Regions from separate parts of the Homo sapiens genome. Here regions 1 and 2 are each linked to region 3. Evidence: promoter capture Hi-C in human tissues and cell types (Jung and others, 2019). All regions are on one chromosome and are shown on one strand. The core of a region is centred on a gene start or on the middle of the fragment in contact, and the rest is flanking DNA. Distances in the headings are between cores, read along the strand shown.

Evidence for each region. Contacts are between HindIII fragments. The study calls those that stand out against the background at their distance.
Region 1: a contact is called between a fragment that was not itself captured here and the fragment with the promoter of STARD9 in region 3, in 2 of the 25 tissues and cell types used here (H1 embryonic stem cells and aorta).
Region 2: a contact is called between a fragment that was not itself captured here and the fragment with the promoter of STARD9 in region 3, in 1 of the 25 tissues and cell types used here (aorta).

Annotation. Positions count from the first base shown.
Region 1 is chr15:42,957,076-42,960,418 of GRCh38, reverse strand. It overlaps UBR1 (ubiquitin protein ligase E3 component n-recognin 1), which reads left to right. Exons shown (of 47, transcript NM_174916.3): 44 at 2,329-2,406. Among named protein-coding and RNA genes, the nearest start is that of TTBK2, 38 kb to the right of the region's middle. The HindIII fragment of the contact is 3,871 bases long and covers 1-3,343 here.
Region 2 is chr15:42,251,880-42,255,104 of GRCh38, reverse strand. The region is part of intron 6 of TMEM87A (transmembrane protein 87A); the gene reads left to right. Among named protein-coding and RNA genes, the nearest start is that of GANC, 20 kb to the left of the region's middle. The HindIII fragment of the contact is 5,333 bases long and covers 1-3,225 here.
Region 3 is chr15:42,573,956-42,577,340 of GRCh38, reverse strand. STARD9 (StAR related lipid transfer domain containing 9) reads right to left here and starts at 1,735. Exons shown (of 33, transcript NM_020759.3): 1 at 1,579-1,735. The coding sequence starts at 1,625. RefSeq lists a silencer at 1,598-2,227. The HindIII fragment of the contact is 9,099 bases long and covers 1-3,385 here.

The DNA.
Region 1 (3,343 bases), core at 163-2,662, 380 kb before region 3:
AAGAGAATCTTTTTTAAGCTAGCACATACCTGTCAAAAGGCAAAGTTGGAGGAGGCATCATGGAGCTGCTGGTGTATTAACTTCAAAAGGTAGTGGTTTACAATATTTCTATAAGCCACTTTTGTTTTTGATTTTTTTTGTTAGAATAAAGCAAGATATACATAGAACTATATCCTTTTTCCTTCCTGTGTCCTTAGAAACTACCCCAAAAACTTTTCTTCAGCCCTCTTATCTCCCTTAAGTTGTCTCTAACAAAATCTACTTCTTAAGTACTAATTTAAATGCCACCTCCTCCATGAAGCCTCCCCTAATATAGTCTCTCTCATAAATGTCCACTTGTTTGCACCCAGAATAACTGACGAATAAGAACTGCATGCTTATTGTCTTTGTATCCCCTCCGAGGGCCTGACTGGTATTGTATACGGTGTCTAATTTTACTCACTTGAATCACATCTATAAACAAGTGGAGGAATTGACTCCCAGCTTTAAATACCAACACTAGTACCATTTTCCTGTGGATAAAGCAAACTTCAAGACAGTGCACATTTGCCGCCTTTTCTCATCTTCTCTCACCCTGGAACTCCTTTCACCTCCACTGTACATGTGCATATGCTGCTTTCACTTGTAACACATCTTTAGAGATTTAGTGATAATAGATCCAGCCTCTGTGCTCAGATGCAGTAGGAGTCACATCACTAAGAAAAGATCTTCGAGTAGAGAAAAAAGAAAAGTTTAAGATATGAATACATATTTTTGGACTGTTAATCTCACACAATTTTTCCTTTATTTCAATTCACTGTACACCTTTTATACATCTGCTATTTACCCAGCATGGTACTGAAATACTCTGGAAAATTTAAAAGAGGTAACATAGCTTTTGGTCATGAGTCATCTACAATCTAGTTATGAACATAAAACTTAAGACATTATAACATAAAGTATAATGATGTATGGAATATACCATTAGTGCTATAGAAATTTAAAGAGGAAAAGATTGTTAATGAGGCAAGGTTAGTCTTAGAGATCATTTTTAGCTGAGTATAGAAATAATTATAAAATTTAAGCCAGGCACAGTGGCATGCACCTGTAGTCCCAGCTACTCAGGAGCCTGAGACAGGAGTATTGCTTGAGCCTAGGAGTTCAAGGCCAGCCTGGGCAACAGAGTGAATACTGTCTCTAAAAAAACAAACCAAAAAGTGTCTAGGTTTGCCAAATAAATGTTATGGTTGTACTAAATATAGACAACTGAATTGAAGATGAAAAGAATTACAGAATTTAAATTGATTGGGGCCAGGCGCCGTGGCTCACACCTGTAATCCCAGCACTTTGGGAGGCCAAGGTGGGCGGATCACCTGAGGTCAGGAGTTCGAGACCAGCCTGACCAACATGACGAAACCCCGTCTCTAGTAAAAATACAAAAAATAGCTGGGCATGGTGGCAGGCGCCTGTAATCCCAGCTACTCAGGAGCCTGAGGCATGAGAATCGCTTGAACCCAGGACGCGGACGTTGCAGTGAGCCGAGATCGCACCATTGCACTCCAGCCTGAGGGATAGAGTGAGACTCTGCCTCCAATAAATAAATCAATAAATTGGTTGATTGGTTGATTGACTGGGGTTTGAGGAGAGAATTTCACATTATTCAGATGATCTTCCCCAATACATGCAAGCAAGGCTTTTATTGTATCTAGTTTGGTGAGAATGAGTAACATTTGCAAGCATGTATTAAGTACTAAGTATATTGTGTTTTACTTCAGTATCTCATTTAGTCCTCAACCGCTCTATATGTTTCCTTAATGCTAATATTCATATTTAATTTGACATTTCTTAAATCAATATTAGCCTTTTAATTGATAAGTTCATTTAATGTAATGTTTCTCTCCCTCCCTTCCCCAGAACCTGATTTGATGGTGGCCCCATGATTGGAGTATGGTATATTTTATCCCTAGTTTACAGACAGGGAAATACAGGCTTAGGTTCAAAGACTTGTGAAGTGTCAGAGAATTTAGGATTTGTAACCAGCTCTAATTTCAAAGGCTGTGTTCTTAACTACTACTTTATGTTACTTCCCTATACAGTACAGAAATCTAGCTATAACAGTTTAGTCCTAGAAACTAGAGGAAGTTAAGTTTGGAAAGGAATCCAGCTGATGAAAGATTTGGAATTATAGGCTGAGAAGTTTGGATTTGATCAAGTCAACAGTGGGAATTACTTTGGATTGCAAGTGTAGATCCTTTTGTTATTTTTAAGACATTCTTCTATCACTTTGGGCAGTTTTTGATCTGGGGTTATTTACTCTAAAATAAAATTGCCTTTTAAATTACATTGTAGGTACCCTAGAAAAAGAAATAGTTTGATAGAGCTTCCTGATGACTATAGCTGCCTCCTGAATCAAGCTTCTCATTTCAGGTAAGGAGAGTGTGTATATATATGTGTGTAATTTTAAATCATTTTCTGAACTCGCAATTGGTATATGCCATAACTAACACACTTCCTTGTTTTTGTTTTTTTGTTTGTTTTGGTTTGGGTTTTTTTGTTTTTGTTTGTTTGTTTTTTAGACAGGATCTTGCTCTGTTGCCCAGGCTGGAGTGCAGTGATTTGACTATAGCTCACTGCAGCCTCAAACTCCTGGGCTCTTCCCATCTCAATCTCCCAAGTAGTGAAACTACAGGCAGGCGCCACCATGCCCTGCTAATTTTTTTAATTTTTCATAGAGACAAGGTTTCGTTATGTTGCCCAGGCTGGTCTCGAACTCCTGGGCTCAAGTGATCCTCCTACCCATTGGCCTCCCAAAATGTTGGGATTACAGGCATGAGCCACTGCACCTGGCCACAAATTTCCTTTTTTAGCGGTGACCTCTGAGTATCCTTCATAACAGTGGTTGTCAATTTTTTTTAAGTTGAGGGGAAATCCACATAACATGCAATGAACCATGATAAAGTGTACAGTTCAGTGGCATTTAATGTATTCAAAATGTTGTACAATCACCACCTCTTTAGTTTGCAAACTTTTTCGTCACCTTGTACTCACTAATCACTTCTTATTCCCCTCATCCCGTACCCTATGGTAATCTGTAATCTACTTTCTGTCTCTATGGATTTGCCTATTCTGGATATATTATATGAAAGGAATGATACAATATATGACCTTTTGTGTTTGGCTTCTTTCACTTAGCATGTCTTTAATATTTATCCGAGTCGTAGCATATGTCATTACTTTTTTCCTTTTTTGACTAAATAATATTCCATTGTATGTATATATAAGAGTTTGTTTATTCCTTCATCCATAGATGGGCATTTAGGTTGTTTCCCCCTTTTGACTATTACAGATAATGCTACTAAAAAAA
Region 2 (3,225 bases), core at 404-2,903, 320 kb after region 3:
TATAGTCACCGCTACAGGGGAGGCTGAAGTGAGGATCACTTGAGCCCAGGAGGTCAAGGCTGCAGTGAGCCATGATCATGCCACTGTACTCCAGTCTAAGCAATAAAGCAAGACTCTGTCTCAAAAAAAAAAAAAAAAAAGGAGACCTCCCACATGCTGTGTCTATACCTATACACTTAGCCTCCCCCATCGTCAACATACTGCACCACTGTGGCACACTGTTAAAGTTGATGAACCACGTTGACATGTTATTATCAAAGTCTATAGTTTAAGGTTCACTCTGCAGTGTACATTGTATGAATTTTGATAAATGTGTAAAGACATCTTCACCTTTGTAGTATCATACAGAATAGTTTCAGTGCCTAAAAATCCTCTGTGCTCTGCCTGTTCATCTCTCCCTTCCCCTTCAACTCCTGGCAATCATTGATCTTTTTACTATCTTCATAGTTTTGCCTTTTCCAGAATGTCATCTAGTTGGAATTGTACAAATATGTGACCTCTTTAGATTGGCTTCTTTCAGTTAGTAATATGCATTTAAGTTTCCTCCATGTCTTCTGGTGGCTTGATAGTTCATTTCTTTTTAGTGCTGAATCATATTCCATTGTTTGGATATATCACAGTTTATCCATTCATCTATTGAAGGACATCTTGATTGCTTTCAAGTTATAACAATTATAGATAAAACTGTTGTAAACATTTGTGTCCAGGCTTTTATGTGGACATAAGTTTTCAACTCATTTGGGTAATTATCAAGGAGCATGACTGCTAGATTGTATGGTAAGAGTATGTTTAGTTTTGTAACAATTGCATTTTTGACAATGCAGTGCTTAATCAAAAACAATGTTTTGGGAACAAAACTACTCTTGTAGGCTGTCTGTCTGACAGCATCAATAACTGGATTGTCACTTGTAGCTTTAATTACCTTACTCATGGGGTTAAAAGGTTCTTTTGAAGGGCACTTACAATTTTGAGATCATACCATGAAGACAGTGCTTTAAAAACAGTTCTGTTCACAAGCTAGTGGTAGACTGTGAAAAAGAGAAAAAAAAAAAGAAAAAAATAGTTTTGTTATGGAGAACAAAATAATTAATAGTTGAGATGGTAGTTAAGAGCCCAGGCTCTCGGGTCAGATGTCCTAGACTTTGAAATCCCAACTTCACAACTTAATATTTCCCTTGGAAATGTTATTGTGCTTCAGTTTCTTACATAATAAAATGGAGCTAATAGGAATGATATTACCAAGAATTGTGGAGTAGTGAGGTCCAGGTCTCCATGCCTCCACAAAAGCAACTAGTAAGCTGATGAAAGCTATCACATTCAGCTTTCACAGAACTTTGAAATCTAACCAAAACTTAATAAGGAAAAAGTTCAACAAAGAAAGAAGCTGCTACATTACATTAAGAAAGTGCAGTGATATTGTAATTTGTTTACCATACCCTCCTTCCCAGTTCAGAGGCAGGAAGATGGCAACTCGCAGTCGTGGTGCAGGTTGCTGGTGCCAGGGGAACTAATACAGACCTTTTTCTTAAAGACTTGCCATTGTGTGTTTTCACCTGCCTGGAGGCTCCCTGAAGGAACCTTGCCAGGACTTAACTTTGTTTTCCCCAACTTAGAGTGTTCCCAGGGCTGGAGTGGCTTCCTGGGTTGTGTTTGCCAAAAGCATTTGAATGCAGAAGTATTATGTGCATAGGGAAGGGGATAACAGTGGGGATAAGCAATAGAGAGACTGTCAAGCATGAGAAGGAAAGGGTCCAGAAAGGAGATTTGTGGGAGAACAAGGCTTTTTAAGGCTTCTGTGTATATTGAGCTATGAAGAAAGCCATATATATTCTCAAGACTGGACATACGATCAGAAAAGACCTTAGATGACCCTAAGCTTTCATTCTGGCTCTGTACAAGCAAAAAGTGAAGAATAAGGAATGGCTTTAATTGGCCCAGCTAAGCATTGAAGGATTGCGCCAGGGTGCAAAGACTGGGAGGATATTCTGTTCTTTTTTGTCTTTGGCTCCTGGTGTTTAAGAAATCTTTGTCAAAACACTAGCTGACCACTAAGCTAAAGGAATATAGATTCCAGTAGCCACACAGGTCTAAGAATGCAGACTTTACAAAAATGGTTTAGAAAACTTACTAAGCAAAAGAGACATAACCCATATTATTATTACCAGCTAACAAACCCCAAGGAGGGGGCAGATTGTGGTTTCCAGAGTTGCCACTTTATAACATTCAGTTTTCAGTGGAAAATTATGAGGCATGCACAGAAACAACGTATGGCATATTTACAGGATTAAAAAAAATACATGCTTTGAAGAGGAAGCCTCAGCATTAGACTTACCAGACCAAAGATTTTAAGTGAACTGTCTTAAATATACTCAAAGAGCTAAAAATAAAAAAACCATGGATGAAGAAACTAAAGGAAACCAGGAGAACATAGAGATAAAAATGATAAAAAGAATGAAGATGAGCCTGAGAGACCTATGGGACACCCTCAGGTGTATCAACATCCACATAATAGGAATTCATCAGAGGGAGAAGAGAGGGAGAAAGGTATGGGAAGAATATTTGAAGGAATAATGCCCAGAAACTTACCAAATTTGATGAAAGTATGAATTTCAGAAAGATTGAGAGGCTCACAAATCTCAAACTACAAGCAGGAATGAAAAAGTAAAATGTTGTATGTTCATAAAATGGAATATCATTCATCTGTAAAAATGAATGGGAGCTGGATTCCAAGATGGCCAAATAGGAACAGCTCCGTCTACAGCTCCCAGCGTGATCGACACAGAAGACGGGTGATTTCTGCATTTCCAACTGAGGTACCTGGCTCATCTCACTGGGAATGGTTGGACAGTGGGTGCAGCCCACGGAGGGCAAGCCGAAGCAGGGCAGGACATCACCTCACCCAGGAAGCGCAAGGGGTCGGGGGATTTCCCTTTCCTAGCCAAGGGAAGCCGTGACAGACTGTACTGGGAAAACTGGGACACTCCCGCCTTAATACTGCATTTTTCCAACAGTCTTAGCAAACGGCACACCAGGAGATTATATCCCGCACCTGGCTCAGCGGGTCCCACGCCCACGGAGCCTTGCTCACTGCAAGTGCAGCAGTCCCAAATCGAACTGCGAGGTGGCAGCCAGGCTGGGGAAGGGGCATCGCCATTGCTGAGGCTTGAGTAGGTAAAAAAGCGGCCAGGAAGTTCGAATTGGGTGGAGCCCACCACAGCTCAGTGA
Region 3 (3,385 bases), core at 486-2,985:
TCTACTAAAAATACAAAAAATTAGCCGGGCATGGTGGCGGGTGCCTGTAGTCCCAGCTGCTGGGGAGGCTGAGGCAGGAGAATGGCGTGAACCCGGGAGGCGGAGCTTGCAGTGAGCCGAGATCGCGCCACTCAACGCCAGCCTGGGCGACAGAGCGAGACTCCATCTCAAAAAAAAAAAGAAAAAAGAAAGAAATTCCTAGTGTCCAAGGAACTGAGAAGTTACTGAATGTTAGGAGTGGTCAATACTGTTATCCTGAGAACCCTAAAAGAACAGTTTCACAAATACAGAATATACCAGAGACTACCTCCAGCATAGCATCTGCACTTATAAAACCCCCCCCAGCCCTGAGCTACCACATCCAGTTATGAAGAAGCCAGGTGTCACAAGCCATTTACCAATCAAAACGCAGCAGGTCAGGCATCTGCTTTCCCTCTTTCTTCAGTGTACCTCTTTTGCCTTCTTCCTATTCTCTTTAACTTTTTGTTTCTTTCTATCTCATTGCTCTTCTCATTAGTCTGTCAATTACAAGACTTTTCAAAGCCAATCATTTCTATATGAGGACGAACATAATCCACACTAGTACCCAATTTTATTATGGGAGACGATACCTTTCTTGATCCTTCTGCCCAATTATCAAGCTATCTTATGTCCCAGAGATTTTTAAACTTGCCAAATAATTCCAACATGTGCCTCCTGGTCCCCAAAGCACCCTCTGCCAGATTTACCTTCCACCACTCACTTCCCTCCACACCAACCACCCTTTCCCCACCAAAACTTAACCTCTAGTTAGTCCCTTACAGTCTAAGTCCTTTGCTCTTGGCGGTCTTACTACATAGAAGGCTCTTTAAACTCTCTCCACCTGTCAACAAACTCTAATTGATCTTTAAAAAACACTTCATCTGGTGACAAAGAGAAAAAAGTTCGTGGCTGCACACTGGATGTCTCAAGGGCTGAGATGAGAGGTGCGGAATCAAAATAAGCCACGAGAAAACGGGCACTGAGGGCTCTGAGAGAAAGAAGGGGTTGGAACAACTTCCCCTACTTAACAGTTCCGTCCTGGATTAAATCAGCTGTCGAGCATAGAAAGAAACCGCGACCTGTGTCGGCCTCAATTTCCCCCTCACGCCCTCACCTTCTGCTTTCTCCACATCTTCGCAGAGAAGCCCACGCGCACCCAGAAACACACACCATTCAGCCTCAGTCCTCATGGGTACTCCCAAGCCCCCAGAAAGAGAGAGGAGAATGCTCATCCCTCTCCCAGCCTTTCTCAAAGGCCCAACCCGATGCAGCAAGCCTCGAGCCGCCGTCCCTCGAAACTCCTGCTGGCAGGACGCCAGCGACGCTCACCCAGGGCAGCCCTCCCGCGGCCGTCCGGGAACCGCTATCCCCAGGACACAACGCGAAAGCTCGACTGAGGTCCCGTCCCGCCAGGCCTCCGTGGATTCCGGACCCCGACCCCCCGGGTCACTTTGTCACCGATTTCTGCGCGCCAGAATCTCTGCAGGGGGAGACGCGGACCTCCCGCTCTTTTCAGCTCCTGTGAAGCCTCAGGCGCCCTCTCCCGCGGAGACTCACCTCTTGCTGAGCGGCCGGACCCGCACGGCGACCTGCACGTTCGCCATCCGTCTGCCACAACCCAAGTCCAGCGGGTCAGCTCAGCGGCAGCATCCCAGGCCCCCGCCCTAAGCCCAGACACAGCCCCAACCCAGCCCCGCCCGCCCCACGCGCCTCTGGGGACGCCGCCGCGCGGACGCGAGCTGCCGCCCGAGCGGGGCGGTGCCTGCCTAGCTTCGGCCAATCCTGAGCCCGGTGGGCGGGAGAACTCCCGGCCCCGCCTCCCCTCAATCCTCCTTAAAGCCTCCTGACTCGCCCCCGCCCAAACACGCGCCGCAGCCAGAGCAGGCGGGCCCGTGTGGACGTTCGGCCAGTCCTTAGCCTGGTGGGCGGGAGGATGCCAGGGCTCGCTCCGCCTCGTTCCATCCGAAGCCTCCCGGGTCGCCCCCGCCCAAACACGCGCTGCATCCCGAGCTGGGTGGTGCCCGCCGAGCCTTGGCTAGTCGGTGGGCGGGAGGACGCCCGGGCTCGCCCCGCCTCGCTCCGCCCTACAGCCTCTTGGGACGCCCCCACCCATGCGCGTGCCGCACCGGGCCCAGCAGTGCCGGCCCAGCTTCAGCCAATCCTGAGCCGAGTGGGCCGCGAGGACTCAGTGCTAAGTCTGTTGTTCCTGGCCCCGCTTACCCAGAAATAGTTTTTGTTCCTCGACTAGGTGTCCGTGCTATGTAAAGTCAAGTAAATCAACTTTTGGTCCGAAAGTTTGCAAAGTAATTTGCTAAATACTTTTATTCTCTGCGTTCGCTTGAACTGTCAATTCTGTGGTTAAATTTTCGAGGCAGGCCGGGTGCAGTGGCTCACGTCTGTAATCCCAGCACTTTGGGAGGCTGAAGCGAGATCACCTGAGGTCAGGGGTTCGAGTTCAGCCTGACCAACCTGGTGAAACCCCGTCTGTACTCAAAATACGAAAATTAGCCGGGCCTGTTGGCGTGCGCCTGTAATTCCAGCTACCCGGGAGGCTGAGGCAGGAGAATTACTTGAACCCTGGAGGCGGAGGCTGCAGTGAGCCTGGATCGCGCCACTGTACTTCAGCCTGGGCGACAGAGCAAAACCCTGTCTAAAAAAAATAAAATAAAAAAATAGAAGGCAGTCCCTTACTGGCAAGGTACTTCCTGACATCAGGGACAAAGCATAGATGGAACCAATTCAGATAAAGGGTTATTGTCCAGGTCTTCTTGTACAACCAAAAGACAGGTGGCTGGTGTTTATCTTTTCCCTTCAAGGCTTGAGGGTTAGCAGCCATATAGATAAGGGCAGTGCTGATCATAAACCCAACTGCATTTGCACAAAATATTAGCGTATCCCTTCCTGCCTTAAATCCTGGTGCTTGCTTCTCTTCCTTACTAATAAATGTCCTTTGTGGCATTTATTTTTCCAGAATAGGGAACTTGCATATGCACCGAAAAGCTGTTCAGGCAGATACCCTTTCTTCTCAATTATTTCCTTAATGGTGTCTAGGAACTCATTTGCTCCCTCTTGGTCAGCAGAAGCTGCTTCTCTTGTTATCTTGACATATTTTAAACCAAACCTTTCCAAATTTATCAAATCATCCCTTACTGGCATAAAATTGTTTGGATCCTTCACCTTCCTTTTGCTTCAAGTTGTCATATAATGACTTTGCTTGTTCTCAAATCATATTAAGAGTATATAGGTATATAGATAGGTATGTTTTCCTTTTTTTTTTTTTTTTTTTTTTTTTTTTTTTTGAGATGTTGTCTCACTCTGTCGCCCAGGCTGGAGTGCAGTGGCGCGATCTTGGCTTACTGCAACC